3 separate regions of the Homo sapiens genome follow, and all the other regions are linked to region 2. Evidence: promoter capture Hi-C in human tissues and cell types (Jung and others, 2019). All regions are on one chromosome and are shown on one strand. The core of a region is centred on a gene start or on the middle of the fragment in contact, and the rest is flanking DNA. Distances in the headings are between cores, read along the strand shown.

The links. Contacts are between HindIII fragments. The study calls those that stand out against the background at their distance.
Region 1: a contact is called between a fragment that was not itself captured here and the fragment with the promoter of LRP5 in region 2, in 2 of the 25 tissues and cell types used here (aorta and lymphoblastoid cells).
Region 3: a fragment that was not itself captured here is called in contact with the fragment with the promoter of LRP5 in region 2 in 2 of the 25 tissues and cell types used here (IMR-90 fibroblasts and small bowel).

What each region holds. Positions count from the first base shown.
Region 1 is chr11:68,206,602-68,211,037 of GRCh38, reverse strand. The region is part of intron 1 of KMT5B (lysine methyltransferase 5B); the gene reads left to right. Among named protein-coding and RNA genes, the nearest start is that of KMT5B, 4.5 kb to the left of the region's middle. The HindIII fragment of the contact is 5,675 bases long and covers 154-4,436 here.
Region 2 is chr11:68,309,637-68,314,013 of GRCh38, reverse strand. LRP5 (LDL receptor related protein 5) reads right to left here and starts at 1,423. Exons shown (of 23, transcript NM_002335.4): 1 at 1,209-1,423. The coding sequence starts at 1,299. LOC124900302 (a long non-coding RNA gene) reads right to left here and starts at 565. Exons shown (of 2, transcript XR_007062749.1): 1 at 1-565. RefSeq lists enhancers at 1-561, 562-1,437 and silencers at 859-928, 939-1,098, 1,289-1,488, 1,509-1,798. The HindIII fragment of the contact is 14,214 bases long and covers 1-4,377 here.
Region 3 is chr11:68,228,189-68,232,954 of GRCh38, reverse strand. No RefSeq gene overlaps it. Among named protein-coding and RNA genes, the nearest start is that of KMT5B, 17 kb to the right of the region's middle. The HindIII fragment of the contact is 3,922 bases long and covers 1-3,841 here.

The sequences.
Region 1 (4,436 bases), core at 1,742-4,241, 100 kb after region 2:
AGAGATTTGTGTGTGTGGCATCTAAGCAGCTCCCTGTCCACAGGAATGCCCTTCCCATGGCTTACAGAGCAAATCCTTTCAGATAAATCGCCGTGGTCCCATTATTTCGTGTTTCTGTGTACCATGTATGAGCTTTACATTGGCAAATCTCTCCATTGGCAAAATCCTTCTCCGTGGTCAGGAGTTCCCCGACTATGTCAGCCTTAGAACGCTCTGATGGTTAAGAATCTTCCTCACACTTTTGACGATAGGGACCATGTGTCCTCCCTCCGCTCCATCACCCTGTTAGCTACAATACTGCATGTTAAGTAAATGCAGGGGGTGATCCATTATGTGTCTGGATGGGGTTGATTTGGGGCTAGCCGGTCTCCGAATGAGACAGACTTGAACACCAGGCCATCTTCTAGGGCCGTATGTCAAATGATGACTGCTGTATAGAAGTGTAATTTTAGGAATAGTTGAAGGACCATGGAATAAGAATCAATTCTTATTCCATTCTCTGCTCTATCACTGTTTGTATAAGTCATTGATAGGGCCTAGACTCCGTCTACAAAACGACTCTGAGGTCACTTCCAATCCAAAATTGTATTAATGCTTCATCTTTTACACTTCACTGCCATCCTATTTTCTCCTAATAATTATTTTAATCATATTTTGACATCTCTCTAATCACCTTAGTTCATCTGCATGTTTCATGTAGTTTTACCTCCTTTTTTTGAAATGTCATTATGAGATAGTTAATCAGTTGGGTTTTAGAATTGAGAGACTAGGGTATCAGTGTCCCCCCCCCCAAAGCTTGATTGGGGGCCTGTATGACTCCTACAATGCCAGTTGCATTTCTATAAGCTGTCTTAGTTTGTCTGTTGTAATAGCACACTAAAGAAAACAGTACCGGCCGGGTACGGTGGCTCACGCCTGTAATCCCAGCACTTTGGGAGGCCGAGGCGGGTGGATCACGAGGTCAGGAATTGAGATCATCTTGGCTAACACGGTGAAACCCCGTCTCTACTAAAAATACAAAAATTAGCCTGTAGTCCCAGCTACTCCGGAGGTTGAGGCAGGAGAATGGTGTGAACCCGGGAGTTGGAGGTTGCAGTGAGCAGAGATGGCTCCACTGCACTCCAGCCTGGGCGACAGAGCAAGACTCCGTCTCTTAAAAAAAAAAAAAAAGGGGGAAAGAAAACAGTACCTAGATCCGGGGATCATTTGCTGGTGATAAACCTCTAGGTGGTACACGTGGCTCAAGCACTGGAGTAAACCCCAGACTGCAGTTTAAAGATGAAGGTTTTAGACCCACCCTTACCACTTAGTAGCACTTTGAGTTTAGGAAAGCAATTTGTTTCTGAGCTTTAGCCTCCTTGTTGTAGTGCTAATACCTGTTTCACCTGATAGGGTTGCTGAGCTAGCGAATCCCGAGTCCTGCATGTTAGGGGAACCAGTAGAAACCGAATGTGTGTGTTGTGACACCTGTGTTTCTACCTTGTGCCACCTTTATAGGAATGCCTGGTCAGCACATCTCTAATGGCACTCGGCTTGCTTCTCAGGCCTTACGCAAAAGGCCCATTCAGTGAAGGGTCATTCTGCTTCCTAGTCTGTACTTTTCTACCCTGTTAACTTTTTTTCCCCTTATGCATCTGTTTGGTTTTCTTCCCTGACTCAACGACTGATTTTCCTGAAAGTAGAAGCTCTCATACGCCCTCTAGTGTTCCCTGGACATGACCAGTATTCCAGCACCACGAACAGTGCCTGGCAGCTCTGGGAGGTTCTTCATAAGTTTGTTGAACTGAGTGGATTCTAGGTCGGCCCGATGAATTGTTTTGCCTGTCTGATTTGTATAACACGGTTGAAATGTATGATACATTTTAATGGTCTCTGAGGAGTATTTTTATTTTCGAGGCAATGTTTATGTTGCATCATATGGAGAAATAGATATTTTTAGTAAGAAAACCAATCTGATTTTAGGAAGCTGCAGCTTTCCTCACTGAGAAGTAAAAGGGGGCTTGATCCTTCAGCCAGTGAGCCAGTGGCACCATAGGAAACCCCCCTTCACTTTCCCCCTTGGAAAGGAAACAAAACCAGACGTCATTCAGGGTCCTGGAGGGTTTAAAGCAAATATTTGTTTGGTGCATATAAATAAGTACCAGGAGGGCTTTTGACCCAAAAAAGGTATTTTTTGTTTGTTTGTTTTTGAGACAGGGTCTTGTAGCCTCCCAGGCTGGAGAGCAGTGGCATAATCCCAGTTCACTGCAGCCTTAGTCTCCTGGGCCCAAGCAATCATCTCGCCTTGGCCTCCCAAAGTGCTGGGATTATAGGATGAGCTGCCATGTCTGGTCTTGTTTTTATATTTACAATTTTGATTTATATTTCCCTGATCATCCCATCTCAAGTCCATTCTTACATTAGTCTCTCTCCTAACATCCTGTTTGTTTTTCTTACAGCTCGCATCAGATTGATAACCACATACTTACTTACATCTCTTCCCATAGTATGCTCTGACCTCTATGCAGTCAGGAACGATGTCTATTTTGCTCTAGAGTTTTACTCTTCAAATATGGGGCACAGTGGTTTTTTTGTTTGTTTGTTTGGAGACAGAGTCTCACTCTGTTGCCCAGGCTGGAGTGCAGTGGCGCGATCTTGGCTCATTGCAACCTCCACCTCCCAGGTCCCGGTTCATGCAATTCTCCTGCCTCAGCCTCCCGAGTAGCTGGGATTACAGCCACATGCCACCACGCCTAGCTAACTTTTGTATTTTTAGTAGAGACGGGGTTTCACCATGTTGGCCAGGCTGGTCTTGAACTCCTGACCTCGTGACCCTCCCGCCTCGGCCTCCTAAAGTGCTGGGATTACAGGCGTGAGCCACCGTGCCTGGCTTGGGCGAAGTGTGTTTAAAAATTTGTTTGGGGCCAGGCGTGATGGCTCACGCCTGTAACCTCAGCACTTTGGGAGGCCGAGACAGGTGAATCACGTGGTCAGGAGTTCAAGACCATCCTGGCCAACATGGTGAAACGCTGTCTCTACTGAAAATACAAAAATTAGCTGGGCGTGGTGGTGGGCACCTGTAATTCCTGCTACTCGGGAGGCTGAGACAGAGAATTCCTTGAACCTGGGAGGCAGAGGTTGCAGTGAGCAGAGATCGTGCCACTGCACTCCAGCCTGGGCAATAGAGCGAGACAGCGTCTAAAAAAATAAAAAATTTGTTTGGGTCATTATTCTGTGTTGTTTTTTGGTTTGTTTTTTTTTTTTTTTTGAGATGGAGTCTCACTCTGTTGCCCAAGCTGGAGTGCAGTGGCACGATCTTGGTTCACCACAACCTCTGCCTCCTGGGTTCAAGCGATTCTCCTGCCTCAGCCTCCCGAGTAGCTGGGACTACGGGCAGGTGCCACCATGCCTGGCTAATTTTTGTATTTTTAGTAGAAATGGATTTTCACTATGTTCGCCAGGCTGGTCTCGAATTCTTGACCTCGTGATCCGCCCACCTCGGCCTCCCAAAGTGCTGGGATTACAGGCGTGAGCCACCGTGCCTGGCCTGTGTTGCTTTTTTGTGTGATATTAACAGTACACAGTCTCTCAGCCTGGACTTCACTTCAGTTTTTTTTCTAATTCTCTGAGTTTTGTTCTCATTTGTAAAATGGGGATGATAGTATTGAGTGTGTGTTAAAGGGCAGTGATGTTTGTATCTTCTTTTATAGGGTGTGAAAATAATCTGTTTGACCAGGTACACCACAAACTAAACTGTGTTGTAAGAAGCTCTGTAGTCCAGTCTGTGGTCCCTCTGAATGTTTAGGATGGGAGATGTAGCTTGGCATGATTTTTTTTTTTTTTTTGAAACGGAGTCTCGCTCTGTCGCCGAGGCTGGAGTGCAGTGGCGCAATCTTGGCTCACTGCAAGCTCCGCCTCCCAGGTTCACACCATTCTCCTGCCTCAGCCGCCACCATGCCCGGCTAATTTTTTGTATTTTTAGTGGAGACGGGGTTTCACCGTGTTAGCCAGGATGGTCTCGATCTCCTGACCTCGTGATCCGCCCGCCTCAGCCTCCCAAAGTGCTGGGATTACAGACGTGAGCCACTGTGCCCTGCTGCTTGGCATGATTTTTAATCATGCGTGTTGCAGCCAGAAGTTACATTCCTTCTCTTTGGGAACTGTAGGGAAAGCAGAACTGGTGCTCAGCCTTGTGTCATAATTATTCTTTTGCACATTTGTTCTTTTTTAAATGGGTGAGGTGATGAGATTTTTTTTTTCATGTGTGAGTTATGGTGGGGAATAGAAGGGAAATTTCTACTTGATTAAAGTTTTGTGAAGAATGTTTCTGGCCTGCTTTACTTTTGCCTTAGTTACTTGGAAGGGGAGACCTTAATTTGTTAGCAGTTTGTGCTCATTTAAAATATCTTGTGCCAAACCTAGGGAGGCCTTCTTTTCATTGTACTGGTGGGGCATCG
Region 2 (4,377 bases), core at 174-2,673:
GAAACTGTCCATAGAATCTCTAGGCTTGGGTCAGAGGCAGGAGGACGTGAAACAAACTCCAAGCTCCTCCTGTTCCCCGCTGTCCCCCACACCTCCAAGCAGAGGCTGCAGCCTGGGGGATCTGACTACAGGGCCACCCCGCTGCACCATTCACACTGGAAATATTCAGGGAGACAGCTGTTTGCCTTAAGGAGGCCCAGACAAAGGGGCCCGAGGTCCTCCCCGCTAAACTGCCACAAACAGAACAGGAGCCGCGGCGTGCACAGGCACTTGCGGCCGTGCCACTTGGCCAGCCATACTCCAGAAAAACAAAACACGCACATCCGAAGAGAATGATTTAGGTAGCAAGAGGCTTGCTTGAAAAACCACATGGCAATCTCCAAATTAAAAGAACATGTGTAGCGTTTCACGACTGCTTAAGTTTCCTGAGTCCTCCTGACCTCAACTCCACCCCCTGGGAAACACCAAAAGTTGGAGAGAAAGTTCCCCCGCCCTACCTCTCCCCACGGGAGTGTACAACTGAGGCACAAGCCTGCCTCCCCCACTGCCCCGCGATCTGGGACCACGTCACCTCCGCGTAGCCGACCCGGGGATGGACACTATCTGGGGACCCGGCGGCCACACGGGGCATTCGGGTCGCCCGGGCACCTGGCAGGTGTCAGTCCGCTTGGAAACCCACAGCCACGCGGCTCACAGGAGCAGCGCCACCGGCCAGGCCGCCCCGCGCCCGGGCTCAGAACTTTCTCGCTGCAACTTCAGCCCGTCCTCGGAGCACGCGGGGCGGCCGCGCGGCCGCTGGAAACAGGCTTGCGAACCGGCTCCCCGGGCCAGGCCCGCCTCCGCGCCCCAAGTCCCCGCTCGGTGCCCGGCCCGGGCCACACGGGCCCAGCGCGGGCTCGGCTCGGCTCCCGGCTTCCCGCGGGCTCGGGCAGGTGAGGACCCGCCCGCGCCGCACCTGGCGGAGCGGGCGCCCTCCTCGCCAGCCCGGGACGCAGCGTCCCCGGGGAGGGCCCGGGTGGGGAGACAAAGGGCCCGCGCGTGGCGGGGACGCCGGGGACGGCAGGGGGATCCCGGGCGCGCGCCCCAACTCGCTCCCAACTCGCCAAGTCGCTTCCGAGACGGCGGCGGCGCCCGCGCACTTGGCCGCGGGGCCGCCCGGGCCATTGTCCGAGCAACCCGCGGCCCCCGGCCGGCCTGCGCCCACCTACCCGCGGCGGGGGCCGGGCAGCCGCACAGCGCCAGCAGCAGCAGCAGCAGCAGCAGCAGCGGCCACGGCGGCCCGGGCGGCGCTGCCTCCATGTTGTCCGGCGGCCGGACGGGCCCGCGCCGCGCTCACTCGGGCTCCATGGCGCGGCGGCGGCGGCTCCTCGCGCGGCTCCCGGCGCCTCCGCCTCCCCCCTCGGGCGCCGCGGACCAGGACGACGGGGAGGAGGGAGCTGGGCGCGCGGGAGCGGAAGCCGCGCCGCGTCTCCGCCCCCCGCCGCCGCCACCCGCGCCCCCCGCACCGGCCGCGCCCTCCCGCGGGCGCCCCCCGGAGCCGGCCGGCGGCCAGGCGGCCCCAGCGGCGCAGGTCCCCGCGGCCCCTCCCCGCGCTCCCCGCCCTGCCCTGGAGGTGCCTCCGGGAGGCTTGGCGCGGGGTTTCCGCCCCGCGGGGCCCGGCGGCCGATCGGGGCCCGGAGCCAGGTGTGTCACCTGTGGAGCCTCTATGAGTGGGGAAACTGAGGCACGGAGCAGGGCGGGGTTGCCCAAGGGCACACAGCGAGGCAGTTTCAGGGCGGGCAGCCTGGGGCCCCACGGGGCGGCCCCGGACACTTGTTCTCACCTGTGGAGGGCAGAGAAGGGAACAGGGAGAGAAGTGGCCGGCTGGGAGTGGAGGTGGGTTTGAGGTTTTACTGTAAACTAAATGTGTACCCTCTACCTTAGTTATGAATTATGAGACACGAAGACTGCGAAACAGACACACTCCTCTAAAAGTGCCTCTAGGCTGACAGGGAGAAAGTCCCGCCAGGCTCCCAGACGCCACCTTTGAGTCCTTCAACAAGCCCGCCAGGGCCTCTTGCCCACCGGTGTCAGCTCAGCCACTGAACCCTCCAGGAAGAAGACGTGCTGGTAGGAGAAGAATCTCACCCAGGCACAGCCTGGAAGGGGCACAGAAGGGGCTCTGGAACCAGCAAGCCCAAGTTGGAACTCCCAGTCTGCTACTTTCTAGAACGACTGTGCCCTTGGCGGGTCTAAGTAGAACCTCTCCGCGCACTCTTTCCTCCTTTGTAAAGTGGGGACAGCAATGGCCACCTTGCAGGTTCAGAGAGGGCTTGCAGTACCTCACAGAACTGAGTGCCCGTGAACGTGTGTGTTCCTCCAGATTTGTGACAGCTTTGCCAGGCTGGAGTCAGGCTGAACGCCTCTGCCCTCATGGGGTTTATATTCTAGGAAGACCAACAAAAACAAGAAGACGGAAAATTAAAACAACAAAAGCCCCATTGACAGGCCATGAAGAATGCCATGAGAAATGAAGGGCGTTGTGCTGCAGTGTTTGGGGAAACTGGCTTAGGGAAGGAAGGACACTTGAGCTGCTACCAAGGAGCAGCCGTCCGGTGGGAGGGCAGTTCAGGAAGAGCAGACATCCACGGAGGAGGCGCTGGGGCAGAGGGCAGCCTGGTCGCTGGATTCGGGGGAGGAACCACATCAGGCCATGAGCTGGAGCTGGTGGTAGAAGGTACAGGAGAGGCCAGCCAGGGCCAGCACATGTCAGACCTCAGGCGGGGAAGAGGAATCGAGAATGCACCCCACGAGCAATGGGAAGCCAGGCTAGGATTTAAGCAGCAAAAATATTTTCCCTTCTTCCACCCTGCATCCAGCTCTACCAGCACAGCCTGGGGTTCTATTTTCAAGATAGAAGAGACCCAGACTCCCAGCTCTTCTTACACTTCTACTACTGCCACCTGTCACCCACTCATGCGTCCCCACTTGCAGCCTCGACCCCCTTCCACCTGATCTCATGGCAGCCAGGGAAGCTCCAGGGCTCGTGAGGGCTGCCATCTCAGGAAAGAAGCAAAAGCCTTCGGCACCTGCAGGGCCTGCTCCAACCACACTTCTTCCTTGACCTCTCAGCTTCCTTAGCCACTCCCTTCCCACATCTCACCCTGCTCCAGCCACAGTGGTGTCTCTGTGGGTTCTCAAACACACCAGGTGCACTCCTGCCTCAGGGCCTTTGTGCTTGCTGTTCTCTGCTGGGACTCTTTTTTTTTTTTTTTTTTTTGAGACAGGGTCTCACTCTGTGGCCCAGGCTGGAGTGTAGTGGTGTGATCGTAGCTCATTGCAACCTCAAACTCCTGGGCTCAAGCAATCCTCCCACCTCAGCCTCTCAAGTAGTTAGCTTTTGTTGTTTTGTTTTGAGATGGGATCTCACTCTGTTGCCCAGGCTGGAGTGCAGTGGGGCAATCTTGGCTCACCACAACCTCTGCCTCCCAGGCTCAAGCAATTCTCCTGCCTCAGCCTCCCAAGTAGCTGGGATTACAGGCATGTGCCACCACGCCCAGCTTATTTTTGTATTTTTAGTAGAGACAGGGTTTCACCATGTTGGTCTGGCTGGTCTTGAACTCCTGGCCTCAGATGATCCACCTGCCTCGGCCTCCCAAAGTGCTGGGATGACAGGCATGAGCCTGTCTCTAGTAGTTAGGACTACAGAGAGGGGCCATCATGCCTGGTGATCCTCCCACCTTTTCTGCTCCAACTCTTTCACCCCACTTAGCCTCGTGGCTCACTCTCTTACCTCTTCAGCTCCTCAGTCAGGCCTGAGGACCCCTGTTGAAAATTGCAAACCACACCCCCCACCACCACCACCCACTATTGCCAGCACTTTCTACTCCATTTCTCTGCTTTACTTTTCTCCTTTGTACTCATCACCACCTGACTCATTACATGTTTACGTATCTTTCTTCTCTCCACTAGCATGGAAGCTCCAGGAGAGCAGAGAGTGTAGTTTTATTCCCTGATGTGTTTCCTGTGCCCGTACCAGGGCCTAGCACACAGTAGGTGCTCAGTAAATGTGTGTTGGATGAACAAATACAGTGAAAGGATCTGATCTACATTTATAAAGAAGGCACTCTGGCTGCTGAGTGGGGATGAGACTGTCAGGAGGAAAGAGGCCCCTGTGGGGGCCTGGCCAGCAGGTGGGTACAATGGTAGCAGCCAGGAGAGAGGGCCTCTTGGACTCAAGTGGATGGGGCCTGCTCAGGGCTCCAGCCACAGGAACAAAGGGAAGGGGGCCCAGGATGGCCTGTCATAGAGGACACATTACAACTGGCCCAAAGTTCAAGTCAGGTTTCTAAATTTGGGAAGGGATACAGAAAAACTAAAGACTCTACTGGACAGTCA
Region 3 (4,766 bases), core at 631-3,130, 82 kb after region 2:
TGGTGGAGCATGCCTGTAATTCCAGCTACTCAGGAGGCAGAGGCAGGAGAATTGCTTGAACCTGGGAGGTGGAGGTTGCAGTGAGTCGAGATTCCACCATTGCACTCCAGCCTGGGCAACAAGAGCAAAACTCCTTCTCAAAATAATAATAATAATAATAATTAATAATAATTAAACTTTTGAAAGACAAAGAGAGAATGCTGAAAGTAGCAAGAGAGAAGAGACATGTGACATACCAAGATCTTAAATAAGATTTTCAACAGATTTCTCATTAGAAATTTTTCAGGCCAGAAGACAGTGGGCTGACATTTTCTTTTTTGTTCTTTCTTTTTTTTTGAGACAGAGTCTCGCTCTGTCGCCCAGGCTGGAGTGCAATGGCTTGATCTCGGCTCACTGCAAGCTCCACCTCCCAGGTTCATGCCATTCTCCTGCCTCAGCCTTCTGAGTAGCTGGGAATACAGGCGCCCATTACCACGCCTGGCTAAATTTTTGTATCTTTAGTAGAGATGGGGTTTCACCATGTTAGCCAGGATGGTCTCAATCTCCTGACCTTGTGATCTGCCTGCCTCGGCCTCCCAAGACATTTTCAAACTATTAAAAGAAAAAAAAAAACAGCCGGGCATGGTGACTCACGCCTGTAATCCCAGCACTTTGGGAGGCTGAGGAGGGCAGATCACGAGGTCAAGAGATTGAGACCATCCCGGCCAACATGGCAAAATGCCATCTACTAAAAATACAAAAATTAGCAGGGCTTGGTGGTGTGCACCTGTAATCCCAGCTACCCAGGAGGCTGAGGCAGGAGAATCGCTTGAACCCAGGAGGCAGAGGTTGCAGTGAGCTGAGATCATGTCATTGCACTCCAGCCTGGAGACAGAGTGAGACTCGGTCTCAAAAAAATAAAAAATAAACAAACAAAAACAAAAACAAAAAACCTGTCAACCAAGAATCCTATATTGGATAAAACTGTCTTTCAAAAGTGAAGAATATGTGCTTGGCTGAAAAGCCAATGCAGCAAAGCTTCCATCCGTGAGATTATGACTGAATGCCTCTAAATCAAAACTCCGCCCAGGCAGAAGGCAGAATGATATGATAGCACTGCAGAGCCTTGGTTGGCCTCAGATAGCTGGTCCTTTACCGTGCTGCCAGTGCCTCATCTGGTGCCAGGACCGGAGTCCAGTACAGAGAACTCCTCAACCCGTGAAATGGGGTATGGCCAGAAATGGGCTGTCCCCGCTGGCCCATCATGGAGTGCACATTCACGGAGAACCTGGTACTAAACCATTCATAGACAACCTGCTTCTGGGTCAGGATTTTGTACATAGCAGAGTATCTCCCTCACTGTGATCTATTTAAAGTCAGCCCTCAAGATAAGGGTTTGTAAAAGAAAGGAATCAATAATATAAAATTTTTTGAGACAAGGTCTTGCTGTGTCGCCCAGGTTGTAGTGGAGCGGCATGATCACAGCTCACTACAGCCTCAGCCTCCTGGGCTCAAGTGATCCTCCCATCTCAGCCTCCTGAGGACTACAGCTGGGACTACAGACATGCACCAAGCCCAGCTAATTTTTTTTTTCTTTTTTGTAGAGTGGGGTTTCTCCATGTTGTCCAGGGTGGTCTCCAACTCCTGGGCTCAAGCAATCTGCCCACTTTGGCCTCTCAGAGTGTTAGGATTACAGGCATGAGCCACCATACCCAACCCATAAATAATATTTTTAAGAAGATAAAAGAAAAATATAAGAAAAGCCAAAGGGGCCAGGTACAATAGCTCATACCTATAATCCCAATACTTTGGAGGACAAGGCAGGAAGATCACTTGAGTCCAGGATTTTGAGACCAGCCTGGGCAACATAGTGAGACCCTATCTCTACAAAATCAAAGGTCAGGCGTTGTGATGCATGTTTGTAATCCTAGCTACTCAGGAGGCTGAGGGAGGAGGATTGCTTGAGCCCAGGAGGTTGAGGTTGCAGTGAACTGTGATCATGCTACTGTACTCCATCCTGGGTGACAGAGTGAGGCCCTGTCTCTGAACAAAAAGAAGAAAGAAAAAGAAAAAAAAAGCGAAGAAGAAAACTCAAGAAGTTCATAACCAGTAAACCTGCTCTGCAAGATATGCTTAAGGGAGTCCTGAAGGTGAAACGAAAGGACACTAGATAGTAACATGAAACTGTATGAAGAAGTAAAGATCTCAATAGAGGCAAATATATGTGCAATTATAAAAGCTAGTACTATTGTAACAGTAGGTTGTAAAACTACTTTTGGTTTTCTGCAGAATTTAAGAGACTATTACACTTTAAAAAACAATCAGTATCGGCCGGGTGCAGTGGCTCACATCTGTAATCTCAGCACTTTTGGAGGCCGAGGCAGGCAGATCATCTGAGGTCAGGAGTTCAAGACCAGCCTGGCCAACATGGTAAAATCCTGTCTCTACTAAAAATACAAAAATTAGCCAGGCATGGTGGTGGGTGCCTGTAATCCCAGCTACTTGGGAGGCTAAGGCAGGAAAATCGCTTGAACCTGGGAGGCGGAGGTTTCTGTGAGCCAAGATCGGGCCACTGCACTCCAGCCTGGGTGACAAGAGTGAGACAGACTCCATCTCAAAATAAATAAATAAGTAAATAAAATAAATTAAAAGTCAGTATAATAATAAATTAATTAATTGATTAGTTAAACCAAGAACTAATCCAACGCTAGTATTACTGTAACTGGTTTGTAACTACACATTTTGTTTGCTGTATAATTTAAGACACTAACTTTTTAAAAATCATTGTCAGTTTATGTTTTGGGGCATAGAATGTTTAAAGATATAATTTTATGACATCAACAACCATAAGAAAAAGAGATGGAGCTGTAAAAAGAGCAGAGTTTTTATACGATACTGAAGTTGACCTGGTATAAATTCAAACCAGAGTGTTATAACTTTAGGATGTTGATATGGTTTGGCTGTGTCCCCACCCAAATATCATCTTGAATTGTAGTTCCTACAATCCCCATTTGTCATGGGAGGGGCCTGGTGGAAAGTAATTGAATCATGGGGGTCATTACCTCAAAGTTGCTGTTCTCATGATAGTGAGTGAGTTCTCATGAGATCTGATGGTTTTATAAGGGGACTTTCCCCCTTTTGCTCAGCACTTCTCCTTACTGTTGGCATGTGAAGAAGGACATGTTTGCTTCCCCTTCCACCCATGACTGTAAGTTTCCTGAGGCCTCCCCAGCCATGGTGAAGTGTGAGTCAATTAAGCCTCTTTCCTTTATAAATTACCCAGTCTCGGGTATGTCTTTGTTAGCAGCATGAGAATGGACTAATACAGATGTTAAATGTAATACCCATTGTAATAACAAAGAAAATAGCTGTAGAATATACACAGAAGAAAATGAGAAGAAATTCAAACATTTTTCTATTAAAAAAAAAAACCAAACACACCAAAAAGCTTGTAATGCAGGAAATGAGGTCCAGAAAAGCTAGGAAGCAAACAGAGGACAAATAGCAAAATAACAGCAGTACATCTCTCCTTATGCACTGAGAAGACATCACCCCTGGATATTCTTGCCACAAACGCACAACTTGAATCTACTCACAAGGAAACATCAGATAACACACACAGAAGGACATTCTGCAAGTCAAGACCACAAAAAGCAAAGCAAGACTGAGGCACCAAAAGACAGGACAACTAAACACATCCTGTGATCTTGGACTGGCTGCTGGACTGGGGGAAAAGCATGTATCAAATTATAGTATTGTATTGCTGGTGAGTTTCCAGATTCTGACAACTACAAAAGTGATTATGTAAGAGAACAACCATTTTGGAAATATACACTGAAGTACTCAGGGGTGCAGAGGTGGGGTGTTTCTAACATAACCTCACGATTCAAATCATCTTCATTATTCTTGGATTCTGTATTTGTGGGTTCACCTCTAGCTAAATTTATTTGTAACCCCAAAATCAATACTTGGGCCTTTCTGTGGGTATTTGAAAGCCGGTGCATACACAGAGTGGTGAAAAATTGATGTCTCCAGAGACTAAAGTCACCCGCTGAGGTGAAGCAGTCAGCACTCATCTCCCTGTTTCAGCTCTCCGACCCGTAAACAAGTGTCCTTTTCACAGTCTATTTAGTGTCATGTTTTTCACAGTTTTGTGCTTCTTGTTGGTGATTTCACCATTCAAAATGGCCCCCGTGCAGTGCTGAGGCTGTCTAGTGTTCCCATGATCGAGAAGGCTATGCGTGCCTTTGGGAGAAAATGCCCGAGTTAGATAAGCTTCATTCAGGCAGAGTTTTAGCGCTCATTGACCCCCACGGCCACGTGGGGTCAATGTCAATGGATCAACAATATGTATTAAATAAGGTGTATTTAGGCCGGGCACAGGGGCTCACACCTGTAATCTCAGCACTTTGGGAGGCCGAGGCATGTGGATCACCTGAGGTCGGGAGTTCGAGACCAGCCTGGCCAACATAGCGAAACCCTGTCTCTACTAAAAATACAAAAATTAGCTGGTGTTGTGGCACACACCTGTAATCCCACCTACTCAGGAGGCTGAGGCAAGAGAATCACTTGAATCCAGGAGATGGGGGTTGCAGTGAGTCAAGATGGTGACACTGCACTCCAGCCTGGGCGACAGAGTGAGACTCTGTCTCAAATAATAATAATAATAAATAAATAAGGTGTCTTTTTTTTTTTTTTTTTGAGACGGAGTCTCGCTCTGTCGCCCAGGCTGGAGTGCAATGGCTCTATCTCGGCTCACTGCAAGCTCCGCCGCCTGGGTTCACGCC